Regions from separate parts of the Homo sapiens genome. Here all the other regions are linked to region 1. Evidence: promoter capture Hi-C in 16 types of primary human blood cells and fetal thymus (Javierre and others, 2016). All regions are on one chromosome and are shown on one strand. Each heading gives the region's core, a stretch centred on a gene start or on the middle of the fragment in contact. The rest is flanking DNA. Distances are from core to core; before and after follow the strand shown. Region 1 holds the start of CNNM3 (cyclin and CBS domain divalent metal cation transport mediator 3). Region 2 overlaps SNRNP200 (small nuclear ribonucleoprotein U5 subunit 200). Region 3 overlaps STARD7 (StAR related lipid transfer domain containing 7).

Region 1 (3,286 bases), core at 165-2,664:
GGGAGGCGGAGCTTGCAGTGAGCCGAGACTGCGTCACTGCACTCCAGCCTGGGTGACAGAGCGAGACTCCGTCTCAAAAAAAAAAAAAAAAGTTTTTTACAAAGCCTTTTCCTTTGGTCACTCACCACCAGCTTACTCATTTTTTTTTTTTTTTGCACATTACCTTCCACACAAGTTTTACTTTGTGGCCACAATGTGCATACTTTTTTTGATTGTTACTTTCATGACATAGCAAATTGTTTCTATAGAGTCTTTATAAAGGTCATTTAAAATGACATGTGCAGTAAGTCAAAGTCTTCTTGTGCTAGGAAATTTGAAAAAACAAAAGTGTAGAGAAAAATACAAAAATTACTGAATCTGAACATCTATAGAGAAGTGTTGTTAGCAGTTGGTTTATTTCCTTCCAATCACATACAGATCATATCTGATGGGTAAAGAATATTCCATACTGTCAACAGACCACACTGTCTTCTAAAATCGCTTCAGCAGTGAGGATCCTCTGGAATAGATCTTGTTAATCCTGAGGAATTATTCTCCCAGCGGTGAGCTATGAGAAGTGGAATCACCAGATGTAGTAATTCCTGACAGAACTGCCGCCTGCTTGTGTGGCTGAGATGCTGACCTAGGTATCAGGCTGGTCGCGCCGGAACCCAGCACCCACGCTGAGTCTTTCTGAGCTCCACTCTGCTCCTGTTAGATATTAACCACCTGAGGTAGCTGTCCAGATTCAAGGCGGTAGTGATTTTGTGTGTCTGTGTATTTATCACGGGGTCCGCGGCGGGAACGCAGGGGCTGTGTCCCACGTCCCCAAACCTCTAGTAGGGTACGGCGCGATGAACATCTTCCATAAACCTTAAACCTCCCGGCGCTCAGTCACTGGTTCTTATTTCAGCCCTCTTAGCCCCGTAGGTCGGCGCGCTGAAAACCTTTCTGGTACCTGGGGCCTTTCCTAAGAAAAAGGCACATGTCTCGCACATTTCAGTCTGGTCTGCAACTTCAGGCGCGCCAGCACCCGAGGTTCTTCCGACCGGCCGCTCCGCTCCCAAGCCGGGAACTTCCCAGAGAATTGGCTCGGCCTCCGGGCGCGGGGGACAGCATCGGGAGGAGTGGGACTCCGGGCGCCGCGCACGGGCCGAGGACAGCCGGGCTTGGGAGGCCCTGCCCGCCGCCCCGCGTCCTCCCGGCCACTGCCACCCCGCGCATCCGGAGCCGCAGCAGACTCGGCGGGGCCCGGAGCCCCACGCCCCCGGCCCGCCCCTGGCCGCCACTTGTTTACTCCCCGGCGCAGCCTAGTCCGACCCTGGGGCCCGCCCCCGCCCACCGCCTATTGGCCGAGGAGGCGCGAAGAGCCGTAACGATTGGCCCGGGGAGGCGCGGGGCGAGCGGGGTAGGCTGCGCGAGAGGCCGAGAGGGGGCAGCAGGCGATGGCGGCGGCGGTAGCTGCGGCGGGTCGGTTAGGCTGGTTGTTCGCCGCGCTCTGCCTGGGCAACGCCGCGGGGGAGGCCGCGCCGGGCCCGCGAGTGCTGGGCTTCTGCCTGGAGGAGGATGGAGCGGCGGGCGCGGGTTGGGTACGCGGAGGGGCGGCGCGGGACACGCCGGACGCCACCTTCCTCCTGCGCCTCTTCGGCCCGGGCTTCGCCAACAGCTCTTGGTCCTGGGTGGCCCCGGAGGGGGCGGGCTGCCGGGAGGAGGCGGCCTCCCCCGCGGGCGAGTGGCGCGCGCTGCTGCGCTTGCGCCTGCGGGCCGAGGCCGTGCGCCCGCACTCGGCGCTGCTGGCGGTGCGCGTGGAGCCGGGTGGCGGGGCGGCTGAGGAGGCGGCGCCGCCCTGGGCTCTGGGCCTGGGGGCGGCCGGGCTGCTGGCGCTGGCAGCGCTGGCGCGAGGCCTGCAGCTGAGCGCGCTGGCGCTGGCGCCTGCCGAGGTGCAGGTGCTGCGCGAGAGCGGCTCGGAGGCGGAGCGTGCGGCGGCGCGGCGTTTGGAGCCCGCGCGGCGCTGGGCCGGCTGCGCCTTGGGCGCGCTGCTGCTGCTGGCCAGCCTGGCGCAGGCGGCGCTGGCGGTGCTGCTGTACCGCGCGGCCGGCCAGCGTGCGGTGCCCGCCGTGTTGGGCAGCGCGGGGCTCGTGTTCCTGGTGGGAGAGGTGGTGCCGGCCGCCGTGAGCGGGCGCTGGACGCTGGCGCTGGCGCCGCGAGCGCTCGGCCTCAGCCGCCTGGCCGTCCTGCTCACTCTGCCCGTCGCGCTGCCCGTGGGGCAGCTGCTGGAGCTGGCGGCGCGGCCCGGGCGGCTGCGGGAGCGGGTGCTGGAGCTGGCGCGCGGCGGCGGCGACCCCTACAGCGATCTCAGCAAGGGCGTGCTGCGCTGCCGGACCGTGGAGGACGTGCTCACGCCCCTCGAAGACTGCTTCATGCTGGACGCCAGCACCGTGCTGGACTTCGGCGTCCTGGCCAGCATCATGCAGAGCGGCCACACGCGCATCCCGGTGTACGAGGAGGAGCGCTCCAACATCGTGGACATGCTCTACCTCAAGGACTTGGCCTTCGTGGATCCCGAAGACTGCACGCCGCTCAGCACCATCACTCGTTTCTACAACCATCCGCTCCACTTCGTCTTCAACGACACCAAGCTGGACGCTGTCCTGGAGGAATTCAAGCGAGGTAACGGCCCGGGCATGGTGCAGGGGACGCCCGTGCGAGTGCCCTCTCCCTGAAAAGGGGTGGAGAGTTATGGAAGCCTTCTGGAAAGGGTCCCACCCCTGTGGAGAGCAGTGAGACCTCTAAGGTCCCTTTTCAAGACGGTATTGGCCTTGCAGCTTGGAATGACCTTTTGAAATACTTAAAGGCCATCGATCAGAGTGGGAGGAATCCTTTAGACAGCGAACACTTTAACCCCCGCGTCAGGATAGCCCCCCCCCCCCATTTGCAGGGAGGGGTATGTCCGCTTGTCCTCTAATCCCCCAGCTCTTTCCCTCTCCCAGAGTGTTTCTGTGTGCTTGACTTTGTAGCAGGTCCAAATTTTTGGATAGAAACTAGAAGAACATAGAAAAGATGGTAGTCTCCAGGTATCTGGGATATTGTTGTGTGCACACATGTAATATCAAATTGACTGGACCTGTAATGTTTCCTTCAGAGCATTCTTAAGGTCCCTGGCGTTACTGCAGATAAGGGTATTTAGGTGTCAATCCCTTATCTGCGGTAAAGTCAGGGAAACTTAACACTTTGCTTTCACCAAAAGTAACTCCATTTATGCTGACTTAGTCTCCCTTTCTCCCAGCTCTGTCGCGCAGGCTGGAGT
Region 2 (3,745 bases), core at 1,246-3,745, 520 kb before region 1:
CCAACCTCTAACTGTGGACCATAAGTTACTGTCCTATAGGTTTTTTGTACTTTTTTTTTGGTAAAGTATATGACCCAATGTCATTATTGTCCTAATAGGACAACTGGATGAAGTCACAGCAGTACAAGTGCCAGGCCCAGGCACATGAAGAAAAACAGCAGAATAAGCTGACCCATAGTGAAATGATGTCTGCACGGACAAGACAGCTGAATTATCCACCTCAAGTTATGGGAAAAGCTACCCATTTTTCTGCTGTTCTAAGCAACAGGTGATTAGATAGGCAGTACTCACATCAAGAGAGCAATCTGAAAAATTTTTTCCTGGGCCAACAACTTTTGCTGAGACCTTTGCCTCAAAACCCTCACCCCACGCACCTGGAAGTTGCCCGTCTTCTTGTCGTACTTGACCAGATTGTTCTTGTCCAGCATCAGGGCAGCTGTATGAACCAGATCTAGTCGGCGCTGGTCCAGCAGGGGATCTCCCTTGAGGTCATCATGAGAGATGCCATAGAGGGTTGGGGATCGCAGCATTCGGATATAGAGGTAGGCATAGCCCAGCCAGTTCACCGCATCCTACAAGACACAGCTCATGGTTCTTAGCATGGAGAAACTCTTGATGTCCAAATGACAGGCTCCCATGAATTGCTTAGAAATTAATTCCCAACTACAAGGATGCATATTACATCGTATTCTGAATGTTTTTAGCATTTCATTATTAAAAAGATCTAAGCGTCTTCTAAGATCTTGGTAACAAGGGGAACTATCTGCCAGACCCAAGATGTGGGTGCAGGGATGGAAGGCCTCGGACGCTGCTGGCCCGCAGCACAATAGGGACCGACCCACTCCTGGTGCCTTGGTGTCTGCGGGGAAAGCATGAAGCACAACAAGCAGTCCTCCCCTACCTTGGCATTCTGGACATTTCCTAGCACGATTTCTGCATTGAGCATGTCAGGAAGCTTTGAAACCATCTGGCTTTCAATAGGAAGTTGTTGATTGAGGAGGGACAGGTAGTACTGTAGCTCCCCATGAGATGTGATGAGTATGCCTTCACCCTTGGTGTCATACTGGGGTCTTCCGGCACGTCCCAGCATCTAGATCAGAGACAGCGAACCAAGAATGCTATGTCAAGAGAATGTCTGAATTTTGATGCAGGTATCTACATTACAGAACTAGACCTCTGATCTGCTAGCTTTCCAGCATCCCTGCATTTCAGGCAAGGATACTGATCCCTGCTGAGAATAAACTCAAAAGGCTCTGTACCTGCAGAATGTCCAGTGCTCCCAGTTCTGTCCAACGCCCCTTCTCTGGACTGTACACCTGGGTGCCTTTGATGATGACTGTATGTGCAGGGAGATTCACACCCCAAGCTAGAGTTGCTGTGGAAACTAAAACCTACAGAGGCAAAACAAGGTAATGAGGAGAACAGATGCCATCACCAGGGGTTAATATCCCTGGCTTCTCTAGGCAGTTGGCCTCAGAGCTTCTCTCAGGACTAGCCGGTAGGGCGCGTGGGGTCCCAGTACTTGTCAATGTGACACCAGAATAAAGAGGAAAGGTTTCCTTGGGTTCCTCATCTATTCAGTAATGAACATTTCAAGGTTCCAGAGGCACAAGTGCAGACTTGTATTAAACAACCTTAAAGTTACTAGAAAAGGTAAAACAGAGCCTATCCGGAAAGAGGGAACGACAAGGGCACGCGTGCCCCCATGAGACACTGTTTGGAGCTATCTGAAGTCACCAAAGTGCTTGCTTCACTATGCTTCTCAGACTATCCTAAACTCAAGCAAGGTGGGAAGAGTTGGGAGAGTAGCATAAGGTTCTATTTATTGTGTCCACCACAACCCTCTGACCTGGGCTAGCTGGGCCAGAAGCAATAAAGTACCAGGAGCAAACATGGCACAAACTTGACATTGCCCATCTTCTGAAGTATGTCCCACCTGCTCCTCCAAACGCTTTGCACCCCCTCACCTGAATATGTTTATCAGCAAAAAGATCCTCCACGAGTGTTCGGTCAACCCTGGTCATGCCTGCGTGATGAATAGCAAAGCCATAAGGCAGAAGATCCTTCAGCTCTAGGTTCTGTGGAACAAAGAACCGGGGATGAGGCGAGCCTTCCTGTAGGACTCATCCAAGGACTAAGGAAATCTCCTCCCATGAGACCCTGCCCCTTAACTATTATGTGGAATAGTAATAATCACATCCAGACAATCAACCTTAACCCATGGGAAACAACAATACCACAGTACAGTCCTAGAGGAGCTGTCTGGGGCCTGAGATGGACACAGCTGCCAGGTAGGAATGAGAGAACCCAGCTGGCCCCTCCTCACCTTGCACTGCTCAGCTTCTGTTCGCAGGACTTCTGTGGAGGCTGAGCCCTCCCTCAGAAACAGACCCAGAGTGTCCTTTTCTAGGCACATGTCCCGGATGGCCCTGGCTGTCTTTCCAGTCTCCTTCCGGGAGTGGACAAACACCAGCACCTAAGGAGAAGCCACAGTTTGCTACAGTCACGAGATACTCACAGCCCCAGGGCACCTGCAGCAGGAAGCAGAAGTTGCACCATCACCACCAGAAGCCAAGGTCCTGGAGAGGGGCAAGGGCAGGAATGTGTGCAGGCTCAGAGGAAGCCTAAACACGGCTGGAAAGACTTTTAAGGGAATGCACCCACCAAGTTCACAGTCCTGGAGCTGAGAAATTAAACCAACTTCAACATCCTATCTTGAACAGCAACTTTAAATAGACTACAACTACAAATTCGGGCCTCTCAACTCAGAATTTATGTTCAAGCACCTAACAAGAGTCAAAGCTGCATGAAAATGTGTCTGCAAAATAACAACTAAAACATTACACTACTTATAAAAGGATTTAGGAAATAAGTCTGAGACTAGTACACTGTTGTAGGGAATGAAGTCTTCCTAGTATTTAGTGCCAAGAAAAGATCTGTCTCTTCATATAAATTCATATGCTTCTTTTCATCAGACAAAAAGAAATACAAAACCAGTCACTTTTCCTTATTTTTTGTTAGTTAACATTGCTCAACTCGACTTTCAATTTAAAAATTCTATCACACTGTCTAGTAAAATGCCCTCTAGTTTTTCATTTTCCTCTTTTTATTGTCTTGCATTTTTAGTGTAAGTGACCCCAAATCTTTTATGGAGGGACCCTGGATAATGCGAATGCACAAAACAATTATCTGGGACTGGGGATTGCTTGCTGGGGGGATTTTTAATTCTCCAACTCTCTAATAGTTGTAGGGCTCTTCATGTTATCTATTTCATCTGGGCTGAGTTTTGCTAGTTAACTGGTAGTTGTTGGAGAACTGGTCCATTTCTTCTGAATTTTTAAAGTTATGAGCATAAAATTACTCATAGTATTCCCTTATTATCCTTCCAGTGGCTATAGGTTCTGTAGTAATATCCCATTTCATAGCTGATATTGGTGATTTATGTTGTGTCTTCTCTCTTTTAATTTCTGTCAATCTTCCCCAATTATTGGTGAATCAAACATTCGAAAGAATGGGGTTCAAGAGTAACCATAAACCACGGGCAAACCTGATTTTTTCCAGCATGTTCCATGATTTTTTCATAGACGATTTCATTCATGATCTGGAAACGCTTGATAGCTTTTTTCTCTGTGATACCCACATATGTCTGTTCCAGAGGCACTGGACGGAAGCTAGAAGTTCAACAGTTAGACAAATGAGGCTTTGGCAGAAAATACTGTGGGAATAAACAGTCTTTTTCACTGCC
Region 3 (3,571 bases), core at 443-2,942, 610 kb before region 1:
CTGCAAGAAATTTCCTTCTATTCCCAGTCTGCTGAGTGTTTTCTTTTTTAATCACAAAAGGAGGCTGGAATTTGTCAAATACTTTTTGTGTTTATTCAGATGATCACGCAGTTTTTGTCCTTTTTTCTATTAATATGGTGTAATAAATTGATTTTTGTATGAAGAACCGACCTTGCCGTTCCTTAAATAAATCCTACTTTTCATGGCATATAATCCATTTCATATATTGCTGAGTTCAGTTTGTTAGTATTTTGTTCAGGACTGCGAAAAGTTGTGTGGTTTTTTTTTGTTTGTTCTGAGCCCAGGCTAGAGTGCAGTGGCATAATCACAGCTCACTACAGCCTTAACTCCCCAAGCTCAGGTGATTCTCCCACTTCAGCTTCCCAAGTAGCTGGGACTACAGACAAGCACCACCACATGCAGCTAATTTGTTTTCTGTATTTTTAGTAGAGATGGGGTTGCACCATGTTGCCCAGGCTGGTGTTGAACTCCTGGCCTCAAGTGATCCACTAGCCTGGGCCTCCCAAAGTGCTGGGATTCCAGGCGGGACTCACCGGCTGCAAAAAGTTTTAAAACATGAAAAACACCACCATATATTGTACTATGTATCACTATGTATCATTCAGGGGTATATACATATGTATAAAAACATAGGGAATTATATACAACAAATTGGGATAATGGTGACATCTTGGGGAAAAATAAGAATACAACTGGAAAAAGGTACAGAGGAACCCTAAGTATACTTGTAATATCTTATTTCTTAACATAGCTGTACTTGCAACGCTCGTGTTATTATTTAAACCTTTTTTATATATCTGAAACATTTTATAATAATAATTTTTTAAAACTTGGCTTGTATTTTTCCCATAACCTCTTCTTTTTTGAGACAAAGTCTCACTATGTCGCCGAAACTGGCCTCAAATTCCTGGGCTTAAGAGATCCTTTCACTTCAGCCTCCCAAGTAGCTGGCACAATAGGCGTGTGCTACCATACCCAGCTTCTCCGTGCCCTCCACCTCACCCTACCCCCTGCAACATTTAAAGAAAGGTTACAGATAAGAAACAAAAATTGCTGGCTGGCTGTCTTATACACTCTATTGCAATTCAAGACTGAAGAAGACCCAAATTACTGCTACACTGTCTGAAATGCCTTTTCACCCTTCAAGCTTCAAAAAACCACAAAGGTAACTGCTAGGCAGAGTTAACCATACACACTGATTTTTATTCCTTTACACAGGCATATTACACTATAATTAATCTATCTTTATATCTGCTTTCCTTACTAAACTATAAATTCCTTAATAGCCCAGAATCAGTCTTTTTCATATTTGTAGTTCCAGCTCCTAGCATGTCCTGGTAAACATTACATGTCCTGGTAAACATTACATACATTACATGAATAAATTTAGTAAATCAAGAAATAATAAAATGAAAATAGGCCTCAGTAATCCAAATTTTTATTAAAAGATTGCATTAAGGCCTGGGGCAGTGGTTCACGCCTATAATCCTCAGCATTTTGGGAGGCTAAGGTGAGCAGATCACTTGAGCCCAGGACTTCAAGACCAGCCTGGGCAACATGCAAAACTCCACCTCTAAAAAAAAAAAAAAAAAATTACACAACAAATAGCTGGGCGTAGTGGCATGCAGCTGTAGTCCCAGCTACTGAGGAGGCAGAGGTGGGAGAATCACCTGAGCCCTGGAGGTCGGGACTGTAGCGAGCCAAAATCATGCCACTGCACTCCAGCCTGGCAACAGAGTAAGACTCTTAAAAAAAAAAAAAAATTGGCCAGGTGCAACGGCTCACACCTGTAATCCCAGCACTACAAAAAAAAATTAGCCAGGCATGGTGGCCTGCGCCTGTAATCCCAGCTACTCAGCAGGCTGAGGCACAAGAATCTGTTGAACCCAGGAGATGGAGGTTGCAGTGAGTTGAGATCGTGCCACTGCACTCCAGCCTGGGTGAGAGTGAAACTGTCTCAAAAATATATATATATTGCATTAATATATTGCTGCAAAAGCCAAAAATTCAAAGGTATAGTGTCAATCCAAGATTAAAAGTTTAGAGCAATTCAAAATAATGGTAAGTCTAAAGATTTGTGTTCTAGTCCTGGCTCTACAGCTGACCAGCTGTGTGATCTTATTTTATTTTACCTTTAAAGTGAGGACGTTATTTCTTGAAGTCCTATTAGTTCTAAAATTGAATTTGCTGAATTTTAAGCTTTGGACTTGGATGAAAATATTTATATAGGGGAATATTTGTCATTTTGACTGCCTGAAATCCCTTTCTATTTGGAAAGAACCCAAATAGGTGAATGCAGCCCCCCTCCCGCCCACAAGCAGTTAAAGCACAGCTCCTAATTTAAGTGAGGTTAGAGACTTCTAGAAGGGGCTTTGCATCTTGAAGATAACACAAAGGCACAGGATCTTGAGGGAGCTGGGAGTCCAGGAGTACAACCAATCTGGGGGAAAGAATGCCAGCAACACTGCTCTAAGTAGATTATTCCTGCTGCAGGTCTTGGTCAACCTGTACCCTGGCCTTGTCAATACTGAGTGACCTAATACCGTTTTGATTAATTCCTTTTTGGCTTAAATTAACCAAGACCAGTTTCTTTGTTACAACCAAGAACCCTGACCAGCTGCAAAACCATAGAGAAACAGAGAAGGAACCTTAGGATAGGCATTTAGATGTTGCAGAAGAAGAGCAAAAGCAAAACCATAGCTAGATTTGCTCAGAGAACAATCAGGCACCATAGGGCATCGATTACAGCATTTTTGAGGTCTATAAAGCATCCTTCAACAATAACTAAGCACAACTCTTGAGTGTCATTCTTTAAAAAAAATTTTTTTCTTCATTGCCCAAGCTGGCCTCAAATTCCTGGGCTCAAGTGATCCTCCAGCCTCCCAAGTACAGGCACATGCCACAACACCTGGCCCGAATTATCATTCTTGCCACATAATAAAGGGGAGCATGTTTCCACTGGTGGAATGTCGTACTAAAACATCAGAGGCTCATAAAATAATTACATAGTTAATAAAGTTTTAAGAAAATTATTAACTATAGGCAACATTTTTTCATGACCTTCTAAGAATCAAGGTGGTTCAGAGCATCTGACCCACTGCTTAATCAAGCTCTCCTATATAATTAAAGGTTACTAGGTGGCTTTGACTAAAATTATGAAAAGGGACGGAAATGTCTTGTGGAGACACAGTATGAATGATAGAGCAAGACTGCTTCACGAAAATGTAAATGATCAAGTTATTTTTTCCCAAGGTTTAGGAATCCCTGAAGGGTCTGAACTTCTAAATGCTAACATGACAAGACCCAATTAACATACAGGAGCACAAAGTCATTCACTAACATATATGTGGAGAAAAGGAAAACCTCTCATGACACATCTCTTTAGGCTGCTGTGCCCAATCTTGTTTGGATGGGATGGGTGGCTAAACCTTCACATCTTAAGAGACTTAAGAGAGGACAGAAGGACAAAAGAGATTATTCCCAAAATAGTAAAATCAGCAGATTAGAAAAAGGATCAAGAAAAGAGAGACCATGCCTTTCTTTCTCCAAA

Evidence for each region. Contacts are between HindIII fragments. The CHiCAGO score rates a contact against its expected background, and 5 or more counts as called.
Region 2: a contact is called between a fragment that was not itself captured here and the fragment with the promoter of CNNM3 in region 1, in 4 of 17 cell types (activated CD4 T cells, total CD8 T cells, total CD4 T cells and 1 more). The highest score is 8.4, in activated CD4 T cells.
Region 3: a fragment that was not itself captured here is called in contact with the fragment with the promoter of CNNM3 in region 1 in 3 of 17 cell types (neutrophils, activated CD4 T cells and monocytes); the score reaches 7.4 in neutrophils.

The regions. Positions count from the first base shown.
Region 1 is chr2:96,814,854-96,818,139 of GRCh38, forward strand. It overlaps CNNM3 (cyclin and CBS domain divalent metal cation transport mediator 3), which reads left to right and starts at 1,415. Exons shown (of 8, transcript NM_017623.5): 1 at 1,415-2,649. The coding sequence starts at 1,425. RefSeq lists an enhancer at 562-681 and silencers at 1,022-2,001, 2,012-2,151, 2,162-2,271. The HindIII fragment of the contact is 9,370 bases long and covers 1-3,286 here.
Region 2 is chr2:96,289,425-96,293,169 of GRCh38, forward strand. It overlaps SNRNP200 (small nuclear ribonucleoprotein U5 subunit 200), which reads right to left. Exons shown (of 45, transcript NM_014014.5): 16 at 3,548-3,671; 17 at 2,327-2,476; 18 at 1,968-2,078; 19 at 1,260-1,391; 20 at 902-1,090; 21 at 375-572. Among named protein-coding and RNA genes, the nearest start is that of SNRNP200, 14 kb to the right of the region's middle. The HindIII fragment of the contact is 3,084 bases long and covers 954-3,745 here.
Region 3 is chr2:96,199,814-96,203,384 of GRCh38, forward strand. All of the region lies in intron 1 of STARD7 (StAR related lipid transfer domain containing 7), which reads right to left. Among named protein-coding and RNA genes, the nearest start is that of STARD7-AS1, 6.8 kb to the right of the region's middle. The HindIII fragment of the contact is 1,052 bases long and covers 1,167-2,218 here.